2 separate regions of the Homo sapiens genome follow, and region 1 is linked to region 2. Evidence: promoter capture Hi-C in 16 types of primary human blood cells and fetal thymus (Javierre and others, 2016). All regions are on one chromosome and are shown on one strand. The core of a region is centred on a gene start or on the middle of the fragment in contact, and the rest is flanking DNA. Distances in the headings are between cores, read along the strand shown.

Region 1 (5,799 bases), core at 766-3,265, 200 kb before region 2:
AGGCCTGTTTAAGGGTCCCAAGGTACTACCTCTCTGTTTCAGATCGCGCTAGCGAGCTTTTATGAGGACGGAGGGGATGAAGACATTGTGACCATTTCGCAGGCAACCCCCAGTTCAGTGTCCAGAGGCACAGCCCCCAGGTAAGGGCCAGCTTCAATTATCGCTACATGAGTGTTTCCAGCAGTGAAGAGGAGCTATTTTCTGACCAGAGCGTTCAGGCCTGGGTGTGTGGACCAGGTCTGAATGAGAAGGTTAGACTGAGTCAATGGGTAGTACTTCCCAGCAGGCCTCAGTCATTTCCTATACAGAGATGCATGACTTTTAACTGGGTGTGGTTTATGGTTCAATCCTGGGGGAAACCACAAACCTACTTTTAAGACTTTTACTTATGTAGTATGAGGAATGACCACTGCAACTCTAAAGTTTTTAAGTAAAAGCCAAAAAACTTCCTTTCAAGGGTGCTATAGATGTGAAAGTTTAGGCGAAATGACTTAGGAAAGCTGTTTTGATATTTTAGGATGCCCGTTACCTTATTAAGAAGTCTTGTACAAAATAAACCTGTGTAACCCACCCTTTGCCAAGTTGATTAGGGAGACCTTGTCTTACTAGGTAAAACAGTGTTAACCTTTGCAATCCCATTTGCATCCCCTGTCGCTGCCTCCCACAGCACCCACAGCAGATTACTCCTGTGCTCTGCAGAGTGAGACAATGCTGGTCTTCCAGGAGACAGGCAGGGGTGCTTCCTGTAAAGGTGTCTGAACCTTTACAGAGAGTGTGTAAGCAGAGGTGTCTCCCCTCTCTGCTTTCGCCTTATTGCTTCTACTCTCTAGTGTATGTTTTAGCCAGGAAATTTTATTTGGGTTTGAATTCAACCCCAGAATATAACCAACAGTGTTTCTTTGCCATGAAGTGGTAAATTATGTTTCTCTCTAAAGGCAACTGAGGTTTAAAATATATTTCCTCCCTTCGAAGAAGGAGCACTAACCCCAGATCTCATTGCTTTCTTCTTTCCCTAACTCCCATCCAGAGAAAAGAGGTAGGAGGAAAGTGATCTTGTAACTGTTTGCACGTGCTAACCTATGAGATGTTGGTGATGGCACATCTGGGTATTACTGCTTGGGACATGTTGTTAGGGTAAGTGCTGTTCTTGCAGCTGCTAGTAGAGATGGCTGATTTTCTGGGGTATGAGTCTTTGACAGCCACCTTAGGGTGTTGTTGGGATGTTGGCATGTCAGAATTATAGAGGGGGAGAGATTTAAACTTAGTCTCTAATGCCAGTTACATGTTTACTCCTTTCTTTTCTCCAGTAATCCCAAAGTTCTATTAAGGCAGTGGTTTATTAGCATGGGCCCAGGAGCCTGACTGCGTTGGTTCAAATCCCAGCTCTGCCACTTAAGTAAAAGCTTTGTGACCTTGGGCAGGTTACTTAACGTTTCAGTTCCTCATTTTCCTCGCCTGTCAAATGGTAATGATAGTGCCTACCACATGGGAGACTGAATGAGTTAATACTTACAAAGCAAATAGAACACAGCATGTGTTGTTATTATAATTTTAGTATTATCATTTTTAGCATTCATTCTCAATTGACCTGTTTTGTTTACTCTATTCCCCAACAAGTATGTACATTTAAGAATAGGCATAAAAGTGGCCAGGCGCGGTGGCTCACACCTGTAATCCCAGCACTTTGGGAGGCCGAGACTGGTGGATCACGAGGTCAGGAGATTGAGACCATCCTGGCTAACATGGTGAAACCCCGTCTCTACTAAAAATACAAAAAAAATTAGCCAGGTGTGGTGGCAGGAGCCTGTCATCCCAGCTACCCGGGAGGCTGAGGCAGGAGAATGGCGTGAACCCGGGGGGCGGAGCTTGCAGTGAGTCGAGATTGCGCCACTGCACTCCAGCCTGGGCGACAGAGCAAGACTCTGTCTCAAAAAAAAAAAAGGCATAAAAGTAAAAGAATCAAGGACATAGAGTTTAACATTAGAACTGAAGTGAGTAAAAAGACTGGACGCACATTTGGTCCAAGAGGCATTGCTTTATTGCTCTGGTTAAGGCTCAGACTTGGTAGTAGGCTTAGAAAAGAACTGAAGACAAGAAAAAGGGAGGGAGGAGGGCGCAGTGTGTTGCATGGTTTGTCCTTGTTGAGGAGGAAAGCAAATGCTAGGACTACATTCTCAGGAAAAACCAAACTTGTGCTAGCACCTCAGAGGAATTCTGTGTGGGGCCTGCCTCTGCTTTGACCTGGCAGTTGCAGGACACTTAGCCAGCTGCTGCCCTCTCCCATCCCCCACTTTTGACTTCTCACATACCCTTTTATGTTGTCACTGCTGCCTCAGAGCAACACCCAACTCTAGAATAAGGATTCTTAATATGGAGCCCGAGAACCCTAGGAGGAATCTATGAAATGAGCGTGAGAAGGTCTCTATTAATACCTGAAATTACAGGCAAAAGTTTGTGTACATGTTAGCAGGTATCTTTTGTGGCAAGAGAGTCCATGGCTTTTATGAGATTCTCAAAGGGCTGACAGACATAAAAATGTTAACCATTGCTATAGGAGACAGTTTAAACTCAGTAATAACAGCTGCCATTTATTGAGTATTTACGAGTGAGGCACTGAGTTAAGCTTTTACATGAACATCTTTTTAGTCCTCACAGCAACCCTGTGAGGTTAGTACTGTTGTTAGTACTGTTAGCACTGAGGTTAGTACTATTCCTATTTTACAGATGAGGACACTGAAGTTGGGTATCTTTCCAAGATCACAGAGCTAGTAAAACAAGGATTTAAGTGTAGGGCTGTTTTCTACATTCAGCATTTCAGCTCTCAGCCCCAACAATGTTCTGCCTCTTCTTGTGGACATTCAAAGTCCTCCAGAGTTTACCCTTGGACCCACCTTCCTAATCTGATTCCCTTTTCCTCATTTCTTAAATCCTTTGTTCCAACCAAACTGATTTCTTTGGTGCTCTAATTCTTCCTTATTTTTGGTTCTCCTGCTTTTGTTTGAGCCTCTCACCTGATCAGGTGTGCCCGCTCTCTTGCTTTCTGCCTATACAAATCCCATGCATCCTTCCATGTTTACCTCCATCCCCACTCTGCTGAGCGTGTTATTGCTAACCCTGTGACCAGGCTGCACGCCATAATTCTGTTCCACAGAACTCCAGTCACAACTATCACTCCTTCAGTTCTTTGACTATATCCATGTACTACTGGGTGGCATCTCTCCCACATTGCCCTGAACTCTTTTCCTGATATTTAACTTAATTTTTCTCCCCAAGTAAATTGTAAATTCCTGGAAGTGGGACGGCTAGTATTTCAGGAGCAGTCACCAAAGCTCTGCCATGTTTCTCACCTGTGTTCTCTTCTGATACTGTTCAACAGCTTTGAAATAGGTAAGGTGCTTACCATTTCGCTGGTCAGGATGCTAATTCTTAGAAAGGTCAAGTAACTTACAGCTGCTGTTACCACAGATTCAAGGCGAAGTCTGCCTAAGTCCAAAGCTGCTTCTGCTGCCACATGCTACCTCCCTGCCAGCACCTCCCACCCCTGTATGCAGGGTCAAGCAAGAGGTAACAGTTTCTTCCTTTTTTCCCCTCTTTCATCCAGCAAAAGTTGTACTTTAAACTTCCGGGAACTACGATTGTCTGATTCTCTAAAATTACACGATCCAACAAGGTAGCTACTAGCTATTTAAATTAATTGAAATTAAACAAACATTGTTACTCGTTTTCTCTAACCACATTTCAGATGCTTAATAGCCAAATGTGGCTAGTGGCTTCTCTGTTGGACAGTGCAGATAGAGCATTTCCATCATCACAGAGAGGCAGAGCTAGGGTAACCGGATTAAAAGCAGAAAATGTCATCTGATGAAGGAGTTTTGTGCCACTTCAGTATGCCAGAGTAGCCTGGGAGATAGTTCTAATATTGAAAAATTGAACTTTCTGAGATATTTAGCCAATTTGTAGAGACCATAGGACAAAAGTATTGTGCAATTGCTAATATCCCTAGGACATCCATGCCATAAGGTAACTGAAAGCATTACTCCAGACAGTGGTTCTGAACTTGAATATATGTCGGAATTACCTCAGGGGCTCCTTAAGGCTAGATTGCTGGATACCCCTTCCAGAGGCTCTGATTCAGGAGAATTAAGAGGGGGCCTGGGGATTTGCATTTCTGACAGGTTCACTGTAATGCTGATGCTCCTGGTCCATGACCACACTTTGAGAACTGCTACTCAAGAGTAGTACTTAAATGTGCCACACCATGCAAAAGACTTTCCGTGCATCAGTACCCCACCTGCACACAGAAAGCCCATAGGTTGGTGCTGTGATTGTCTTATTTACATGTGAGAAAATGAAGGCTTTGAGAATTTAAATAGCATGTCCAAGATCCCAAGGGTAGGAGGCAGAATTGGGATTGGAATCTGGTACATGGATACCAGAATCAATGTCGGATACCATCAGAGTCTGGGTGTATGAGTTTTGGGGGAAAGAAACAAAGCCATAGCAGAGCAAGTGATTTGCCCAAGCAAGTGTACACACATATATTTGAAAGTTTAACAACAGGGAGATAGAAAATATTTTTTTCATAGATGCTCATCCTAGCCTAGTCATTGGAAGAAACTTTAGGCTGAGCATGTATGGAAAATTCCCTTTGGGAAGATGAATGAGTGGAACTAGTACTCTCAGGGTACTAGTACAGATCTCATCACTTGGATCCTTTTGAACCATGTCATATCAAGCATCAAGGAATGCCCGGCAGACTGTTCTCAGGAGCCAACTCATGCAGGGAGCTTGTTTGCTACATTGATTGGTTTTTGTCTTCTCACTTCTAGTTGATGGATCCTCAAAACTCTTCTGTCCCCTGATTGTCTCCTTGAAATAAATCTTCAAGACTGAACTGGAGCTTTCTTCCTAGTAAACAGCTCATTAAAGCCTCACTAAACCTGTATTACTCTCTGTTAGTCTTTTCTCACACTGCTATAAAAAACTACCTGAGACTAGGTAATTTATGAAGAAAAGAGATTTAATTGACTCACATTTCCACAGCTGTACAGGAAGCATAGCTGGAAGGCCTTAGGAAACTTACAATCATGGTAGAAGGCGAAGGGGAAGCAAGCACATCTTCACATGGTGGCAGGAGAAAGCATGTGTGAAGGGGGAAGTGCCAGACATTTTAAAACGATCATATCTTGTGAGAGCTCACTCACTATCATGAGAACAGCATGAGGGAAATCCACCTGCATGATCCAGGTCCCTCCTCCAACACTGGGAATTACAATTCAACATGAGATTTGGGTGGGGACACAGAGCCAAACCATGTCACCCTCTTTGTCCCATATTATATGGAAGCTGCTTTTTTCCCCTAAGAAATACAGAATTTTTTTAAATCTTGATAAAACTTGTCTTATGATCCTTGAAAAACTTAAGCTTGTTCCTTGAGGACAGATCTAAACTAGGTGGAAAGTGGCAGTGGAAGATAATTTCAGAGAGAATTAACCCTTCTCACGCTCATTTTTAGTTGTGCCCATCCCATACAACACTGCTTTTTTTCTAAAAATAAATACTTCTTGACTAACCTGCAGCAGAAGTACACTGGAGCTTGCTTTTCCTCCAGTGCTGTCACCCTCGTATTCATTCATTCCTACTTCTTGGCTATGTGTCCTTCCTTCAACTCTCTGGTCTCTGTGCACTGTGTATGCTGCTTTCCTATAATGCTACACCAACCCCTTTTCCCCAGCAGCCCCATCACCATGATTGTCCACTAGTTCTTTGGCAGTTGGTCCAAATATTTCATTTTTCTGG
Region 2 (6,583 bases), core at 2,436-4,935:
GCTAAACATTTTCTAGGTTCTATGATACACTGGTTGTACGACTCTGGGTAAGACCCTTCGCCTCTCTGCCCTGGCTTTCTCACTTATAAAAATGGGTAAATTTATATATAGTGCCTACATAATGGGATGATCTGAGCAGTAAATTATTGAACCTGTGTAAAACAGAGCACAACACATAAGAAGACTAAAAAAGTGTGTCTGTCCTGACTGTCATTCAGGCCTAACCATTATCCTCGGTAAAGGGGCATCCACCAAACATCAGCAAAGCAGGGCTCACGGTGAAAGGAAAACTCTCCATTCCTGGTTCACACAGTTTTCAACCAGGAAGTACCCTGCACCAATCACCTGGGAGAAATGCCTGATCTCTCACCGTAAATTGTTCACAGCTTCTTCTTCTCCAAACCCCTGTTCCCACCTGCAAGTGCACACACAGCTCACAGCATCAGCAAGGTATGCATGAAGAGGCAGCGAAACCTTTGGAAGGGGACGATGCAGACAGACCTGGTGTCGGATAGCAGTTCTAGCCGCGCAACCCTCAGCAAGTCACTTAGTCTCTCCAAGCCTCAGTCTCCCCATCTTTGAAATGGTCATAATTTTCTTTAAGGATTACCTGAGACAGTTAATGGTCTGGGACTTCATAAATGACGTTGAGGGTAATCATAGTTGTCTGATTTTTATTTAACAAAATCCACTCGACAGAATGTCAGAAGCAGAAGGGGTCTTAGAAATCACTTAGTCCAGTCCCATCATTATATAGATGGGCACACAGAGGCCTTGAGGGGAGGCCTGACTGGCCCAAGGTCACATAATAAGGCAGTGGTTCAATGGGACATGGGACCTGGGTCTCCTGACTTTCTACTGCATATCCATGTTGTCCCACTTGATTCTAATTACCTGCTCTCCTCCCTCAAACACAGAAAATGGCTAGAATCATTCCCTTCCCAATCCTCCTCCCTTCACAGTCATCTCACACCAGCTGGCACCATCTGGATCCCTTTTTGCCAACATCACCACCCTCCCAGGCACATCTGGCCCCTTTTGGTCTAGTCAGGAGCCCTAGAGGAGTAGGCGAAGCATCTGTTAATCACCAACAATAGCAATAATAACAGTAGCTGTAATAGCAATAATAATGACAACCAACAACCTGGACGATGTCCTACACTAAAAAGGGCTTTCACCTACATAATCAACACATTCCTACAGTTTCTCCCTAACCTAGTTGGCTTAGGGACATAATTTCCTCAAGTTTGTTTCATTCAACACTTACGGAGCACCTACTTTGGGCCTACTCATGGGCCAGAGGCTGGAGATAGAGAAAGGAAAATGATAGGGCCTCTGCCAAATAGGAATTTAGGGTGGGGGTGGGGGGACATGACAACTTCTTTTGGCCCAAATGGTGCAGCAGCAAAATTCCCCACCCAACCCTATGGAGAACCTCCTTTATCATGCTGTCAAAAGGCAGGAGGTATCTGGAATAAAGAGGAGCGAGAAAGGCTTGAGTGCTAGGCTGAAAATGACAGCAGGAAGGAAGATAAAGAATCGAAAATACAAGCACCAAAAACTTGACTGCCTGGCCTCAGGGTGACTCTAGGGAGACACTCCAGGGAGGGCAAGAGAGCCACAGTGGGATTCATGTGAGATCCGGAAGACCTGATCCCTGCCCTGCTGCCAGCACACAAGAATCTGCTGCTTCTGTTCCCTCAGAGACTCCGCCCTTGGATGCCAGGATTTTCCAAACCCAATGCTGGGCTACAGTCCTCCTTGGGACCATCATTTGCTAGAATGATGTCACAACCTTTGCAGTGGAAATGTTGCTGCCTGCCTAGGCCCTCAGCCTGGTGACCCAATACACTTCAGCATTCATTACCCCTGGCAGGGACACCATCTGCAGGGGTGTGGAAGAGACAGGCAGGGGATGGGGAGGAGAACAGGACTAAAAGCAGTCACCTCTTCCTCTCTTCCCCCAGCCTATCTCCCAAGTCCTGAGTTCCTGAGAACCTACTATGTGCCAGGCACAGGCACTATTTTAGGTGCTTCCACATACATCTCATTTAATTTTCACATCAGCCCTCTGCGGGCTGTACCCCTAGATTTACAGATGGAGAAACTGAGGCTGGGGGAAGGGAAGTCACTTGGCAGCTCAGGGATGTCAACATAGGACTGTCTGGCACCTCCAGCTCCTTGAGGCCCACAAGGTCAATGTTTCACTTAAGAAGTCAGAGTTGAAAGAGATCAACTGAGGAAACCCCAATTATTTCATGAAACTAAATTTAAATTGCCTTAGCAGAGGGGTCCCCCTGACATGTAAAAGCTGCTTGAGTGATATACTAAAATTATACACATCATTTAATCCAATTCCTGCATCTAACAGATGAGCAGACAGACACCCACGCCTAGAGAATTTTAAAATGGCTACTTGTGGCCAACTAGCAAGTTAAGGGCCTAGAACCCCAATCTCTGGCACTTTCCTTACACGACTCTGCCTGCAGAGATCACCTTTTTCTAAGAAGCTCCTCCAGCCCATCCCGACACCACCAGATGGGCAGAGAAGGCAGAGGAAACGGGCAGCATGTGACCGGCCTCTCTTTCAGTCTGCAGGGTTGGGGAAGGGAATATGGGGCTCCCCAGGCTAGTAGGTGTTGCAAACAGCCCAGATCCCGGCTGGGGAGTGGAAGGCTTCACATCCCAGGGAAGCTCCGGGGAGACGGAGGCTCAGATCGTCCACTCTAGGACTTATGGGCATTTTTTCCCCAGATCTACTGCAGGGCCCTGATGCTTCTCAGAGGGAAAGATGGGATGGAAGCAGTCATTGGCACTTGACCTTGGGGTGGGGGTGGGGTCTCATCCTTCTCCCACCCCCAGGTACCCCTGCTCCTCCTCCAAGAAGGAAAAGAGAAGCTTAAATGTTTGCCAAATGCCAGAAGGGGAAGACAAATAAAATTGGGGGGTGGGTTCCCTAAAAGCCTCCTAATCACCCACTTTGGGCATCTTCTCTGCTGCAATCAGCACCCTCTAATTCTTACATTTCAGGGAGGGGGAGGGAGGGAAGCGCTTAAAGGGATGTAGGGGAATGAAGGGAGGGTAAGAATGAGTCACGATTAACCCCTCTTAGGCTGGTGCCCTCCAAGGGATTCTACCGCAGCGAGCGGTTGCAAGCGGCCCCCACCTGCCGCGGTGCAGCGCAGGGCCAGCTCCCCGCTCCGCCGCGGCCTCCTCACCTGAGTCCACTGGCCCTCCGCAGCCCCGCCGGCTCGCACCACTCCGGCCCGGCTTGGCGCAGCGCCTCTGCAGTCGCTGCTGCAGCCGCCTGGCCCTGATCAGCGACCTGCGGGGTTAGGAAAAAGAGATAGACCGGGGCGGGTGAGCGCGGGCGGGGAACACCCAGGCAGCTGAGCCCCCGGCCGCTGACAGCTGGGCCGCTGCAGCCAGAAGGCTTGGAGGGCAGGCTGCCTGCCGGGTGCTCCGTCCCCTCCTCCTCGCGGCCCGCGGCCCCCACCCCACCCCCTGGCACTCGGCACTCTGGACTGCGGCGGGTGCAGCTGGGCGGTGGGCCCGGAGATCCCCGGGGTCCTTGTCATCACCTGCGGAGGCTTCCATGGCTTCAGCTGCCCTGCAGGGGCCGCCGAATTGCTCTCCCGAGCCCCTGCAGGAGGCGGCTAGCTGGGTGCTCGCCGGGGCTGGGGCTGCCGGGAGGGAGGGGCGGGGAGGGTGAGGTGGATGGAGGGGACCAGCCAGTCGGCGGCTCGCCGGCAGCTGCGTAAGCGGCCCGTCTTTACTTTCCTTCTTAAAGAGATAGTTAGTATCTTGCTCTAGAGGGCCTGGGAACAGAGACAACGAGCACACGGGGAGCGGCGGCCTCTCCCACCTACACACCAGCCGGTATTTTGAGCTGGGCGATCGATTGGGCGTGGTGGAAAGCGTCTTGGTCGGCTGTGTGACCCTGTGCAAGTCCCTTCACCTCTCTGGGCCTCAGCTTTTTCTTCTCTAACATGGGGTGATGATACCAGTCTCACTCCCTGGCACATAGTTGGCTCTAGTGAAATAGTAATTTTTATCTAAAAGCCTTTAGGAACATTTTTCATTGCCCAAACCAAGTCTGAGTACCAGGGGTATTTAATGTGAATGACAAGCACTTGGGCTACTAACAATGATAGCAGGAATCTTAAGTGTCTGAAAATGGAAATGTTTTCCTCTTAAGTAGTAAAAAGGTGAATCATTGGAAAGATCTCGGAGAGATAAACAATCACAACTTAAAATGTTAATTGTGGCTCTTTTCCCTCTGTCTTCCATCTGTCACAGGGAAAACAAGAAGACCAAAAAGTCCAAAAAACTGGATTTTCTGCCTAGCCCTTCCATTTCTAGCCATACAACTTTAGATAAGTTAACTCACTTTCTGGGCTTGGTTTCTTATCTGCTTCATGTGTGGGAAGTAGGTGGAGTGGGAATGGGCTCCTTCTTTCTGAACCAGGCCTGTCTGATCTGTCATTACTCTGCTCTAAACCATCCAGTGGTTTTCTGTATCGCTCTCCGCCACATGCCCTCATCTTACTCCAGCTCTCTGACTTCATCTTGCGTGGCTCTCCCCATCACTCACTTTTCTCCCATCAAGCTGTCCTTCTTGCTGAGGCCTCACTGCTGGGCCTTTGCATTTGCTGTCCCCTTTGCCTAGAACACACCAGAGAGCCACATGGTTCAATCCTTCCTTTCCTCCAGGTCTCTGCTCAAATGTTACTGTCTCAGAGAGGGCTTCCTTAACCATTCTACATAAAATACTAACTCCCTCCTCTCCACCTCCTTTGCCCCTAGTTTTGCTACACTTAATTACCAGCTGACATAGTGTATATTTACTATGTGTCATTTATCACTCCCACTAGAATGTACACTTCATGAGGGAAGGAACTTTGTTTTTTTCCCTTGCTGTATTTCCAGTGCCCAGAGCAGTGCCTAACACATAGTAGGAGCTCAATAAATATTGACTAAGTGAATGAGAAAGCAAGCACACATTGTGCCAGGCCCCAGTCTTCTATGGGAACACTAGGCCAGATGCCATCCTGGAAGTCCTTTTGTCTTAAGTCTCTTAAGGCTCTTAAGTCCTTAAGTCTGTTTACTCTCGCCGGTGCTGAACTTGGTACCCTCTACTCTCTGCCCCAAGCTGACTTTTCCAAGAGAAGAATTTGTAAAGTGACTTCACTGATTTACATCATGACTCTGCAGTACTGGCCTGGTGAGAAACAGTTAATATTGATAATGTACATGAAAAAATAATTATTTTAAGTTTACTGTTGCTTTTCACAGTCAAATCTTTTCCTGTATCTCTGAGCTGCAATAAATCCATTACTTTTTTTGCAACAAATGCTAATAAATTTTGGAGAGGACATTGATTCTATTTTCTCCTGTATTCCGTTAAACCATATCCTATCAGATAGCCATTATTATATTATGTTTTCTAGAAAAACATGGCAGAGCAATTTAGCAGGAATAGGAAACTAGTTGAAAAAGCCATGTGAAATGTTGAGGTCTTCTGTCCAAAACACCTAATGCTATATTAGCAAGTTAATTGATAAAATGTTTTATCTGCTCTAATGCTCACTGAAATTATATAAGTGACATTTTTACACTTAAAAGTGAAACCAAAGGAAGCCATGTAATTATTACATGTTTAGAAGGAGAACATTTCTGAGATTGTCATTAAAATATTTTTTTGTCTGTTCCCATGCTGTTTTGTTTATTAATAGAGATGGGGCTTTACTATGTCGCCCAGGCTGGTCTCCAACTCCTGGGCTTAAGCAATCCTCAGCCTCCCAAAGTGCTGGGATTACAGGCTTGAGCCACCATGCCTGGCTGTCCCATCCTCATGTGTGTATGTGTGTGGGGTTTTGTGTGGGGGTTTTTTTGGGTTTTTTTTTTTTTTTGCTTGGTACTTAGAAGACTACATTTCCCAGAAATCTCCACAAGGAACTTCCCCAAAGCAAGACAGTGACTTCACTCACATTACTCCCATCTGGAATGGTGTTAGCTAGTAAAGTATTCTCTTTATCATCAGGAAGCAGATGATTGAGAAGAGAACTGGTGTTTAGTTATAATGTAAATTGCAACAAATGAGGATTATAAGTATAAAACAAAATTATTCCTAATAAATTAGTAATTTTGTTTTGTTTTGGACTAGTTGAAAATACATTAAAAATTTTTTTAGTTTCAAAAACAATTGTATTCCAATTCTGGCTAAGCATACTCTCCCACAGAATGCAGCAATAAAACCTGAACAAAATGCATGTAGCAGCTATTTGAGGATTCTGAAGACAAAATACTAGCAGGCACACTGGGGAAGAAGCCAGAATTTGATATACCCTACCACTGAACTAGTGGTGAATTTATCATCTTTATTTCTTCCTATAACTCCTGTCCTGGTCTCAAGGCAGATCAAAATCTGGAATTGGGGCTCAATAAAGAGAAAGCTCCCAAAGAATCTCCCTAGTTTTGACTTGAAGATCAGGAAAAGGGACTTCTGATGCGCAGAGTATGTGGGAGATATCATTGTTCTTTTCCTTTCAAATCTTTTCTCCATTGTCTCATGACCCAGGCC

What was found. Contacts are between HindIII fragments. The CHiCAGO score rates a contact against its expected background, and 5 or more counts as called.
Region 1: a fragment that was not itself captured here is called in contact with the fragment with the promoter of SNPH in region 2 in 1 of 17 cell types (naive CD8 T cells); the score reaches 5.1 in naive CD8 T cells.

The regions. Positions count from the first base shown.
Region 1 is chr20:1,458,670-1,464,468 of GRCh38, reverse strand. NSFL1C (NSFL1 cofactor) reads left to right here. Exons shown (of 9, transcript NM_016143.5): 2 at 43-140. Among named protein-coding and RNA genes, the nearest start is that of NSFL1C, 5.3 kb to the left of the region's middle. The HindIII fragment of the contact is 1,220 bases long and covers 1,406-2,625 here.
Region 2 is chr20:1,263,396-1,269,978 of GRCh38, reverse strand. SNPH (syntaphilin) reads right to left here and starts at 3,685. Exons shown (of 7, transcript NM_001318234.2): 1 at 3,582-3,685; 2 at 3,219-3,325. RefSeq lists silencers at 3,190-3,269, 3,370-3,449 and an enhancer at 3,850-3,999. The HindIII fragment of the contact is 11,249 bases long and covers 2,901-6,583 here.